Linked DNA regions of Homo sapiens: all the other regions are linked to region 4. Evidence: promoter capture Hi-C in 16 types of primary human blood cells and fetal thymus (Javierre and others, 2016). All regions are on one chromosome and are shown on one strand. The core of a region is centred on a gene start or on the middle of the fragment in contact, and the rest is flanking DNA. Distances in the headings are between cores, read along the strand shown. Region 1 has its middle 19 kb from the start of ALG2. Region 2 has its middle 56 kb from the start of ALG2. Region 3 overlaps TGFBR1 (transforming growth factor beta receptor 1). Region 4 holds the start of MSANTD3-TMEFF1 (MSANTD3-TMEFF1 readthrough).

The links. The method cuts DNA at HindIII sites, captures the fragments that hold promoters and counts their contacts. A CHiCAGO score of 5 or more calls a contact.
Region 1: a contact is called between a fragment that was not itself captured here and the fragment with the promoter of MSANTD3-TMEFF1 in region 4, in 1 of 17 cell types (naive CD8 T cells). The highest score is 5.1, in naive CD8 T cells.
Region 2: a fragment that was not itself captured here is called in contact with the fragment with the promoter of MSANTD3-TMEFF1 in region 4 in 9 of 17 cell types (total B cells, fetal thymus, total CD8 T cells and 6 more); the score reaches 10.9 in total B cells.
Region 3: a fragment that was not itself captured here is called in contact with the fragment with the promoter of MSANTD3-TMEFF1 in region 4 in 5 of 17 cell types (naive B cells, total B cells, M2 macrophages and 2 more); the score reaches 10.8 in naive B cells.

The regions. Positions count from the first base shown.
Region 1 is chr9:99,201,637-99,204,336 of GRCh38, reverse strand. No RefSeq gene overlaps it. Among named protein-coding and RNA genes, the nearest start is that of ALG2, 19 kb to the left of the region's middle. RefSeq lists an enhancer at 902-1,071. The HindIII fragment of the contact is 5,389 bases long and covers 1-2,700 here.
Region 2 is chr9:99,165,025-99,167,724 of GRCh38, reverse strand. No RefSeq gene overlaps it. Among named protein-coding and RNA genes, the nearest start is that of ALG2, 56 kb to the left of the region's middle. RefSeq lists an enhancer at 284-578. The HindIII fragment of the contact is 3,039 bases long and covers 1-2,700 here.
Region 3 is chr9:99,148,762-99,151,461 of GRCh38, reverse strand. It overlaps TGFBR1 (transforming growth factor beta receptor 1), which reads right to left. Exons shown (of 9, transcript NM_004612.4): 9 at 1-2,282. The coding sequence ends at 2,157. Among named protein-coding and RNA genes, the nearest start is that of TGFBR1, 45 kb to the right of the region's middle. The HindIII fragment of the contact is 187 bases long and covers 1,240-1,426 here.
Region 4 is chr9:100,440,476-100,443,175 of GRCh38, reverse strand. MSANTD3-TMEFF1 (MSANTD3-TMEFF1 readthrough) reads right to left here and starts at 1,270. Exons shown (of 10, transcript NM_001198812.1): 1 at 820-1,270. The coding sequence starts at 1,237. It overlaps MSANTD3 (Myb/SANT DNA binding domain containing 3), which reads right to left. Exons shown (of 3, transcript NM_080655.3): 2 at 820-1,270. The coding sequence starts at 1,237. The HindIII fragment of the contact is 4,285 bases long and covers 1-1,339 here.

The sequences.
Region 1 (2,700 bases), core at 146-2,645, 1.2 Mb after region 4:
TGTCATTTGCAGCAACATGGATGGAACTGGAAGTCATTATGTTAGGTGAAATAAGCCAGGCATAGACAGACAAATACGTTCTCACTTATATGTGGGCACTAAAAAAGTTGATCTCAGCTGGGTGGGCTGGCTCACACCTGTAATCACAGCACTTTGGGCGGTCGAGGTGGGTGGATCACCTGAGGTCACGAGTTTGAGACCAGCCTGTCCAACATGGTGAAACCCCGTCTCTACTAAAAATACAAAAAAATTAGCCGGGCGTGGTGGCGGGTGCCTATAATCCCAGCTGCTCAGGAGGCTGAGGCAAGAGAATCGCTTGAACCCAGGAGGCGGAGGTTGCAGTGAGCCGAGATCCTGCCATTGCACTCCAGCCTGGGCAACAGAGCGAGACTCGGTCTCAAAAAAAAAAAAAAGAAAAGAAAAGAAAAGAAAATTGATCTCATGGAGATAAAGTAGAAAAATAGTTACCAGAGGCTGGGAGGGGGTCGGAGGGTTGAAGAGAGGTTGGTTAATGGATACAAATATACAGTTAGATTGAAGAAATAAGTTCTAATGTTCAATAGCAGAGTAGGGTGATTATAGTTAACAACAATGTATTGTATATTTCAAATTAGCTAGAAGATAACCTGAAATGTTCCCAACACCAAGAAATGGTAAATACTCAAGATGGTGAATACCCCAAATACCCTGACTTGATCATTACACATTGTATGCATGCAACAAAATGTCATGTTACACTGTCAATATGTACAAATATTGTGTGTCAATAAATTTATTTTTAAACTTACCCTCAAGAGGTCCTTGCAGGCAAATCATGCCTTCTCACATACCTTTCACTCGTTGCTTCTACTTCCACAATAAATCTTACTCATATATATTTAGGACCTACCCTGTGCATAGCACTGAAGATAAAGAAATGAAATTAGCAGTTTAATACTCTTTGACTTACATAATTCTGCATTGTTCAATACTAATATCCTCAGACCTGACTTTCTCTTTGTTCACGTTAAATAATCATATTTTACCCATATTTTAATTTTGAATATTTTTTGGTTTGTCTAATAAATAGAGAAATCTTAGATTTAGTGTTTTTTCTTATAGTATTGGTTTTTAATATTTTATTAAAGATTACTGAGGTTGCTCTTATTACACCTGTGTGTGTATATACACACACACATATATATACACACATATATACTCACACACACATATATATACACATATATACAGACCTGTATATATGTACACACACATATATACACACCTGTATATGTGTACACTGTATGTATCTACACACACAAGTGTAATACATATATACATAATATATATGTGTATATGTGTATATATTCTTTGTACCATCCTTTTTTTTCTTAAAAAGGACACTTGCTTTCCCTTCTGATTTTCTTCATTCTTCTGCTATTCATTGATGTATTTCATTATCCCATTATTTCAATATAAATAATTTCTTTCAAATATTTTAATTTTTTTATTTCAAGTTTGATAATATATTTGCCGCAGTTGTTTGGACTTACTTCAGTACAATCAACTGGTCTCACTGGTTTCTACCTTAGATTCATTGTTCCCTTTCTATGGAACACATCTTTGAATAACATTTTTTCAGAGAGAATATATGCATTTGTATAATTCCCATTGTCTTGCATATAAATAGCTTGATTATATATAAAATTCTTGAGTCACATGTTTTTCTTTCAAAACTTTGTAAATGTTTACCTTCTAGAGCTGCTTTTCCTATAATATGTTCCAAGGAAAATAAGCTGTAAAAAATGCTTCAGGAAAAAGGGCTCCATGGTTATATAACTATAGGAAAACTTCCATTCCTATAGGAAAGGTACATTTTCTATCAGAAATGTACCAGGGAAAGTAGCATACTATAGGCCATGAGCTCTCCTGAGGTAATGAAAATGGATTAATTTTATTTCCAGTGTATCCAAGCTACTTGACCACAGTAATACTGAGAGAAAGCAAATGACCAACAATACAGTAACAGGTAACATCTTTTCAGCATGTACTATGCACTAGGCACTGTTCTAGCACTTAGTCTGTGTACATTATCTGATTTAATCCTCACAATAGTTCTAGATGGGTGGTAGAATTTTTCAATCTGTTTTAACAAATGAGGAAACAGAGGCACAAATAACTTAAGAAAATGAGCTAGAAAATGCTGAAGCTAAATTGAAACCCAAGTAGTTAGCTCCTGAACCATTATTCATATCCTTAAGAGTTGGCAGGGAAGGGCAATAAAGGCAACTTCTATATCTTTCCTAAGCCTGAAAAACACAGCGAAACATCTAATTGTACCAGAAAAGAAAGGGAACTTTCCACCAACCAGAAGTACACTCTGCTAGACTGTCCTAGAATTTGCTGCTGAATTATGGCACAGGCACTTTGGGGGGTAATCTGATGATCATCCATGCAAGTGCTCAACCTCTGCTGTTGGCCAACATCCAGGACCCATCATTGAATACTCATCACCTCATCAATTCATCCTCCTCAACTGACGGGCAAAACAACATCCAAATATTCATTGCACATCTGTGCCGGGCAGATTATACATTAGCAATTCAAATCTGGCCGGTGTGCTGGCTGTTCCTGCAAATGCGTCTGTTTGGGTGAGATGCCTTGTTGTCTGGGATGGATAATAAGGCAACTCGGTCTAATCTTGAAGAACAATCAACCCAT
Region 2 (2,700 bases), core at 197-2,696, 1.3 Mb after region 4:
GGATATATGTGTTTATGTACATATGAATGCATTCATGCATGCATGCCTGTATGCATTTGTTAGTTTATGCATGAAATATCCCTGGAAGAATCCAGCAATATGGTTACATTGGTTGCCTCCAGGAAGGTGAGCTGAATAGCCCAGAGATTATATCAATTAGCAGACAGACTAGGCTGTCTGTCATAAGAAGTGACCCCAAAATGCAAGGCTTAAACAAGATAGCATTTCAATTCTGTCTCACAAAGCAGGGCAGGTATAATGGTGACGAAGTGTCAGGGACCCAGGATCATTCCATTGTGTGGCTCTGCCATCACTACAGTGTTGCCTTCCTCTGCAGGGAGGAGGATGGCTCACCATCACCTCTGCAATCCAGCCAATAAGAAAGGGGGAGTAAAGAAAGTGAAAGGCACATCCACGCCCTCTAGGAGAGCCACTGAACGTTAAGCACATGGCCTCCACTCACCTCCCACTGGCCAGAACTCAGTGACTTGGACACAACTAGGAAACGCCCTCCTTAGCTGAGCATTCATGAGTATAGCTAAAATTGGAGATTTTGTTTCTAAAGAAAGAAGGGCAGAATAAATATAAGAGGACAACCTGTAGTCTTTATCTGGGATAGGATGAAAGGGACATTTTCACTTTATATATCCTTTTAGTACCTTTAAAAATTTTTTCCTGTACCCTCTTGATAGACCTTTCAGTATCTTCTGAACCATGTGAATTAGGAAAAAAAATTAAGTTTGAAAAATATATTAGTTTGGAAGTCACAAATTGAGCACATGCATCCACCTCTCCACTACACCATGGATCCATGGGGATAAAATATATTTTTTAAAGAGTGAAATCAGATCAGTGCTGGAAAGCAAGACAGGGTGCCAGCAGATGAGAAAGTCTGAGAAAATACTGGAAGCTAGAAAGTAGATGGGATTGGCTGGGTGCGGTGGCTCACACTTGTAATCCCAGCACTTTGGGAAGCCAAGATGGGCGGATCACCTGAGGTCAGGAGTTCAAGACCAGCCTGGCCAACATGGTGAAACCCCATCTCTGCGAAAAATACAAAATTAGGTGTGGTGGCGCATGCCTATAATCCCAGCTACTTGGGAGGCTGAGGCATGAGAATTGCTTGAACCCAGGAGGCGGAGGTTGCAGTGAGCCCAGATGGTGCCACTGCACTCTAGCCTGGGCAACACAGCAAGACTCTGTCTCAAAAAAAAAAAAAAAAAAGAAAAGAAAAGAAAAGAAAAAGTAGATGGGATCAGATCAACTGAGAAAGTACAAAGGTAAACCACAGCCCCAAACACCAGTACCAAGAACTTTCCTTCTCAAGGGAGCCCTAGAGAAACCCCAAACTCAGAAACAAGAGACAGAAAGCAAGAGTAGACCATAGGATAACCATCAGAGTAACTGAGCAAAGAGCTGCATTCACAGTGGCTGGGACATTCGGGGCCCCTCCCTTCTCCCTTCCCCTGCTCAACATATGCTCAACCCGTAAAGGAACAACTAGTGGTAATTTTGCCCTTTGGGTACCTAGGACCCAATCATTATTCTTAAAAAATGTGGGTGATCTATCCAGGAAGGGATCCTAATATAGGTGTCTAAAGTCAAGAGAGAAGCAGAACAAGAACAGGGTTGGAAGTCTATGTAGGCCTCCCCAACAAATATATATGGCAAGTTTGGGTTGAGAGGGTGTATTACTCCATTCTCACGCTGCTAATAAAGACATACCCGAGACTGGGTAACTTATAAAGAAAAGAGATTTAAATGACTCACAGTTTAGCATGGCTGGGGAGGCCTCAGAAAACTTACAATCATGGCGGAAGGGGAAGAAAATACGTCCTTCCTCACCTGGTGGCAAGAGAGAAAATGAGTGCTAAGTGAAGGGGGAAGCCCCTGTAACTATCAGGTCTCATGAGAACTCACTCACTATCACGAGAACAGCACCGAGGGAAACCGCCCCCATGATTCAATTACCTCCAACCAGGTACCTCCCAGGACACGAGGGGATTATGGGATTACAATTCAAGATGAGATCTGGGTGGAGACATAAAGCCAAACCATATCAGAAGGCATGGAGGGGTGGTAGAAAGTCCTCTGTCCAAAAGGAAATTATAGCTAAATACTCCAGTCCGTTATTTAAATACCTCCTTACCTTGGCAGGCGTGGGCATCCCAGGCTGCCTGCTGCAATCTAGAGGTGAGCCTGCTGACAATATGGCCCAGCCACTCAAGGGGACCTGAACTGGCCCTCCCCTTCCAGGGAGACGCCTCTTGTGAAAGCAGGCCACACCAGCTATCCATACAGATTAATCTAATCCTTCATTTAGGAAAGTCGACGGAGAGCCATGGAGCCCCAAATATTTGAGGAAAACCAATAGCACAACCAAGTTGAACAAACATGAGTAAACACAACGTCATCCTGGAAAAAAAAAACAAGATGAAGTAGGTAATGTTAAAGATAAAACCCTAATTAGTATCTCTGGAGAGATGTGAGAGAATGAAATCTCCAAAACAAGAGCCAGCTGCCGTAAAAAAGGAGCCATCGGAGAACAAGAAATAATTTCTAGAAATGTAAAATAAGGGTCAAAATTTTAAAAATTCAGCAAACAGGAATAATAGAATGGCCAAGACCAAAAGCCAGAGCAGTTGTGTGGAAGTCAATGAAATCTCCAGAAATACAGAAAAAAGTCAGCATAGTAAAAAC
Region 3 (2,700 bases), core at 84-2,583, 1.3 Mb after region 4:
GATTTCATAAAGCAGATCTGGTAGGCTTAGAAATGGCCCAAAAACAACAACAAAAAAAAAAAAACAAAAAAAAAACCCCCACAAAAAAAGTACCTGATCACAGAATTAGAGATTATTATTAAACAAGTAATACAACACAACTATAAAAACAAACCTCTCAAACTCATTCATTTGCTTCAATGAAATTATGGTAACTACAGAAAAAAACTCAACTTTGTAGTCAAAATAGTAACCTCTAAGCATTTTTCCCATGATGTTTTTAAACACATGAAATTGACACTAAATTCCTATGTAATATGTCACTCATTCTAAAATTACTTTGGTTTTAAGATCAAATAGTCTTTCAAATTTATTCTACGTATAAGAGATAAGACATTATCAGAATGCAACTCATTCAGTGTAAATGGCCACTTTCTCTTCCTGACCAAAATACTGTATGGGTTACTCTGACCCTGTATCGGGGAACTGATAGCACTATAAAGTCGAAGTCTTGCCTCAGAGCTATGATAGTTTTTTCTCCCCTCAGAATAAGATCACAGTGATAAAAGGACTTCGAAAACTGTAAAAGCCCTGCAGAGACTTCATAGCATTGGAAGTAAAAACCAGTTATTATAAGCTAGTTTCAACTTAATGTAAGAAGACCATGACAAGTTTGCTTTCAATATTTGACCAAAGACATCTGTAAATGGAGAAAAACCTATACTCAGAATGTTCTTTAGCTACCACCTCTCCCAAGTAACAAGGGTGCACTGAATGCATTACATAAATTACATGTAAGCAGTTGCAATGTACGCACACATAAGGAAACACTGAATTAAAAGCTGCCTTCCTCAAAGTGTAGTGAGACCTCAAAACCACACTAGCTCTAACCTCAGTTACAAAGACAGAGGATCCACCGAACGTTTACTCCTACATACATAACAAATGTGACTTTCTTGCACATCTGTTATCTATTCAAATTATTAACTACCTTCGCCTTCCTAGAAAAAGGCCTATTATTTAATATTAACCATATTCTAATTTTAAATGTAATTCATGTCTTAAAAAATAAGTCTTTGAACAGATAAAGAAAAAAATGGCTTACAGAATACCACATAACTTTTCACAAGCAGCTAGACAGACTTTCCCTTTTAGAAAAATTAGTCTGTATGCTACAAATATTAAAGTACTATAAGCATCTAGAGTGCCACTTGATTTTTTAAAAGTATACTTAGACAACACAATTAAAATGCAAAAGCTTGATGTGAGAATATTCAAACATGACCATGCTAATAATTTACTAATTAATGCCACTTCATTTCTTTAGTGGCTTAAGCACATTTTGGTAGGAGAAAGGCATTTTCAGAATAGAATACCAAATGACATACCACAAAAACCCTTCCAAAAACAAAACAGAAAAAGTTTGGGTTACCCAGATAAATAAGCTTTTTGAATTCAAACACTATAGGTTTTAACATAGAGACTTTCAGCAATTCTACTCATTTCCATTAGAAAGACACAGAAGTGGCACTTACTGGTATAGTACAATCCCATTTTGAAGGCATGTAATGTTCTGAATAAGTGAAAGAACAATAATAGTATACAAAATACAATTGCATGAATTATGTTCCTCACTACTATATGAGGTCATTTTTAGACTCAAGATAAGAGTTTTATAAGTGTTAGTTTTAAGATCCTGAAAAACTATAGAACAGTACATTCAAAGTCTGAATCAAGGAAACTCTAGTGGTTCAGAATCCTCTGAGAATGTACTAACCAGGAGTAAATCACTTTCTTTAGTAATAAGACATGTTTCATTGTAATTCAGCAATCCAACTCCTTTGCCCTTAAAGATGATCTCCAGCACAGCAGAGTTACCTAAAGTTAAGACCAGCAATCATCTTTTTAAAAAACAAGTTTTGTTAATAAAAAATAAAGGTAGACTACACATTTTCTGTCCTGGGAAAGAAGCGTTCATAGTGCACAGAAAGGACCCACATGGCTGTTTCCTGGGTCCAAAGAAATCCTGGGAAGTTTTTAATTGACTTTATTACACTGCTGCAAAAGGAAGCAATATCCTTCTGTTCCCTCTCAGTGAGGTAGAACAATTGACCTCCCAAATTAAAACCCAGGAGCAGATCTGAAGAAAAAAGGAGAGTTCAGGCAAAGCTGTAGAATTACATTTTGATGCCTTCCTGTTGACTGAGTTGCGATAATGTTTTCTTAATCCGCAATGCTGTAAGCCTAGCTGCTCCATTGGCATACCAACATTCTCTCATAATTTTAGCCATTACTCTCAAGGCCTACAAGAAAATATAAAAAAAAAAATTAATGCATGCACCATTTTCCATTGGTCTGGATAAGAATTTTTACGTGTAAATTTTCTTTTTAAATGACATATACACTTGTTATTGTTTAAGCATTATTTGTAATAGCAAATGAGTAGAAATTACATAAATTTCCATCAATAGGGTACTGGTGCCAGTGCTGGAAAGCAGGTGGACAAAGAGTGACTCATTTAGCAAACCTGAAAAGGCCGAATCCTAAACCAGAGCTGGGCAAAGCAAAGAAGAAATCTGACCTCACACTGAAATTTTAAGTTTGTACTTTGAAGTATTCACATCAAATTTTTCTTTCTTTTTTTTTTTTTTGAGACAGGGTCTCACTCTGCCGCCCAAAGTGGAATGCAATGGCATGCCCTCAGCTCACTGCAGCCTTGAC
Region 4 (2,700 bases), core at 21-2,520:
CGCCCACCTCAGCCTCCCAAAGTGCTGGGATTACAGGCATGAGCCACAGAACCCAGCCGGTTGACTCTTTTAATATGGCCTTTTGAGTGGCCTACTGCAATGCTTTGCAAATAATAAGGACCTCCAAAAATATTTTTTGAAAAAAGTGAAATTGAGTGGATGAATACAAATCTTCATACAATTCTCTTTAACATATTTGAGACAGGCTGATAGGCAACTGCAGCACCTCACTAATAAGAACTCCATTAATCCAGTCCCTTATTTTTCTTTATGTTTAAGTAATAATAAAGTCTCCAAGAGAGCTAGCACAATGATGTAAACAAGTACTTTTGTTTTTATATATTACTTTTTTTTTTTTTTTTTTTTTGAGACAGGGTCTCACTCCGTCACCCAGGCTGGAGTGCAGTGGCGCAATAACAGCTCACTGCAGCTTCCACCTCCTGGGCTCAAGTTATCCTCCAGCCTCAGCCTCCCGAGTAGCTGGAACTACAGGTGCATGCTACCATGCCCAGCTAATTTTTTCTATTTTTTGTAGAAACAGGGGTCTCACTTTGTTGCCCAGGGTGGTCTCAAATTCCTGAGCTCAAGCCATCCTCCCGCCTCAGCATCCCAAAGTGCTGGGATTACAGGCACGAGCCACCACGCCCACTTCTATAAGACTTTGAATGTCCTATATAATCCTGAGATCTTGAATTAGGAAAATTGGATTTGATACAAAAGTTTCATTTTTAGAAGTTCCCTCAAAGTGGAGGGTTTTAAAATTAAAATGTCAAACAGATACCCAGTGAGAGCGTGCACACTGGCATCAGGAACGGATACCTTGGGCTGAGGCGTCGGGGTGGTATTCGGGCTCCTCCTCCGGGGGGCTCTGCAGGAAGTAGAGCTGCTCCGGCAGCATGCTGGCGATCTTCTCCTTCCCTAGGACGTGGGTACTCAGGAGAGGGCTGACGCTCCGTTTCACTTTCTCTCTCCTTTCATGGGCCATAATTTTTTTGGTCCGAGCCTTGATGTTCTCCCAGCACTTCTTCAGCTGTTTGAAATCCCGCAGGGACACGCTGGGCTGAGAGTTGTATTCGTGGGCCAGCGCCTGCCAGGTACGCTGCTTAAGGGCAATAGTTCGCGCATCACTTTTCTTACATTCCAGCACATATTTATACTTTTCTACTAAAGCCAGCAGGATGCTCTTTTCCAATTCTGAGAAGTATTTGGCAGGCTTTATAATTTCGTTGTTTTGCATTTTCCACTGTATTTCTCCTGGCCGCTAGCTATCCTGTAAAAGGAAGTTTGAAGCAATGATTACCAACTCCAGCAAAAACAATGCCTATAAATCACTGAAGCTTAATTCCTGACTTGATTCCCTTGTCTGAAATACAGTACTTTCTTTTCCATTAAGGTTGAATTATGATATTCAGGACTCTGGAGAATATTTAGAAATGTACTAGGAATGGGGTTTTATTTCAAAGTGGATTGTTGTGGCTATACTGTGACTATCTGGTATATAACAGCAAAAAAAGAAAAGTTGAACATTTTTTTTTTGAAACGGAGTCTCGCTCTTGTCACCCAGGCTGGAGTGCAGTGGCACGACCTGAGCTCACTGCAACCTCCACCTCCCGGGTTCAGGCAATTCTCCTGCCTCAGCCTCCTGAGTAGCTGGGATTACAGGTGCCTGTCACCACGCCCGGCTAATTTTTTTTTTGTAGTTTTGGTAGAGACAGGGTTTCACCATGTTGGGCAGGCTGGTCTCGAACTACTGACCTCAAGTGATCTGCCTGCCTCGGCCTCCCAAAGTGCTGGGATTACAGGCGTGAGCCACCACGCCCGGCCTAGACTCTGATTTGTTAATTGATTTTTCTTTAATATTAGGGAACTGATTATTCCCCCAAATCATGTTAGCCAGTTTTAGAACTAAACAGCTTTCCAAAACTTTTGTCACAGCTGAGGACAAAAGAAGCCACCGTGTACTCAAATATAAAATATGATGTGGGAGGCTGAGGCAGGCGGACCACGAGGTCAGGAGTTCCAGACCAGCCTGACCAGCATGGTGAAACCCCATCTCTACTAAAAATACAAAAATTAGCTGGGCGTGGTGGCGTGCGCCTGTAATCCCAGCTAGTCAGGAGGCTGAGGCAGGAGAACTACTTGAACCCGGGAGGTGGAGGTTGCAGTGAGCCAAGATCGTGCCACTGCAATCCAGCCTGGGTGACAGAGTGAGACTCCATCTCAAAAAAAAAAAAAAAAAAAAAAGATGTACAGCCGGGCACAGTGGCTCACACCTGTAATCCCAGCACTTTGGGAGGCTGAGGTAGGTAAATTGCTTGAGCCCAGGAGTTCGAGACTAGCATGGGCAACAAGGCAAAACCCTGTCTCTAAAAAAAAAAAAAAAAAAAAAAAAAAAGGGAAGAAAAAGAAGAAAAAAAAATAGCCAGGTGTGGTGGCATGCACCTGTAATCCCAGCTACTTGGGAGGCTGAGGTAGGAGGACTGCTTGAGCCCAGGAGGTCGAGGCTACAGTGAGCCATGTTTGCACCACCGCACTCCAGCCTGGATGACAAAGGAGACACTGTCTCAAAAAAAAAAAAAAAAAAATTTGACGTTTTCATCACTCTGTGGCATGTACCTGGAGCAATGGCAACCTCAGTTTTTTCATCTTTAAAATGAGGGGTTGGAGTCTGTGATCCTTCAGGTATGCGGGCTGTTTTTT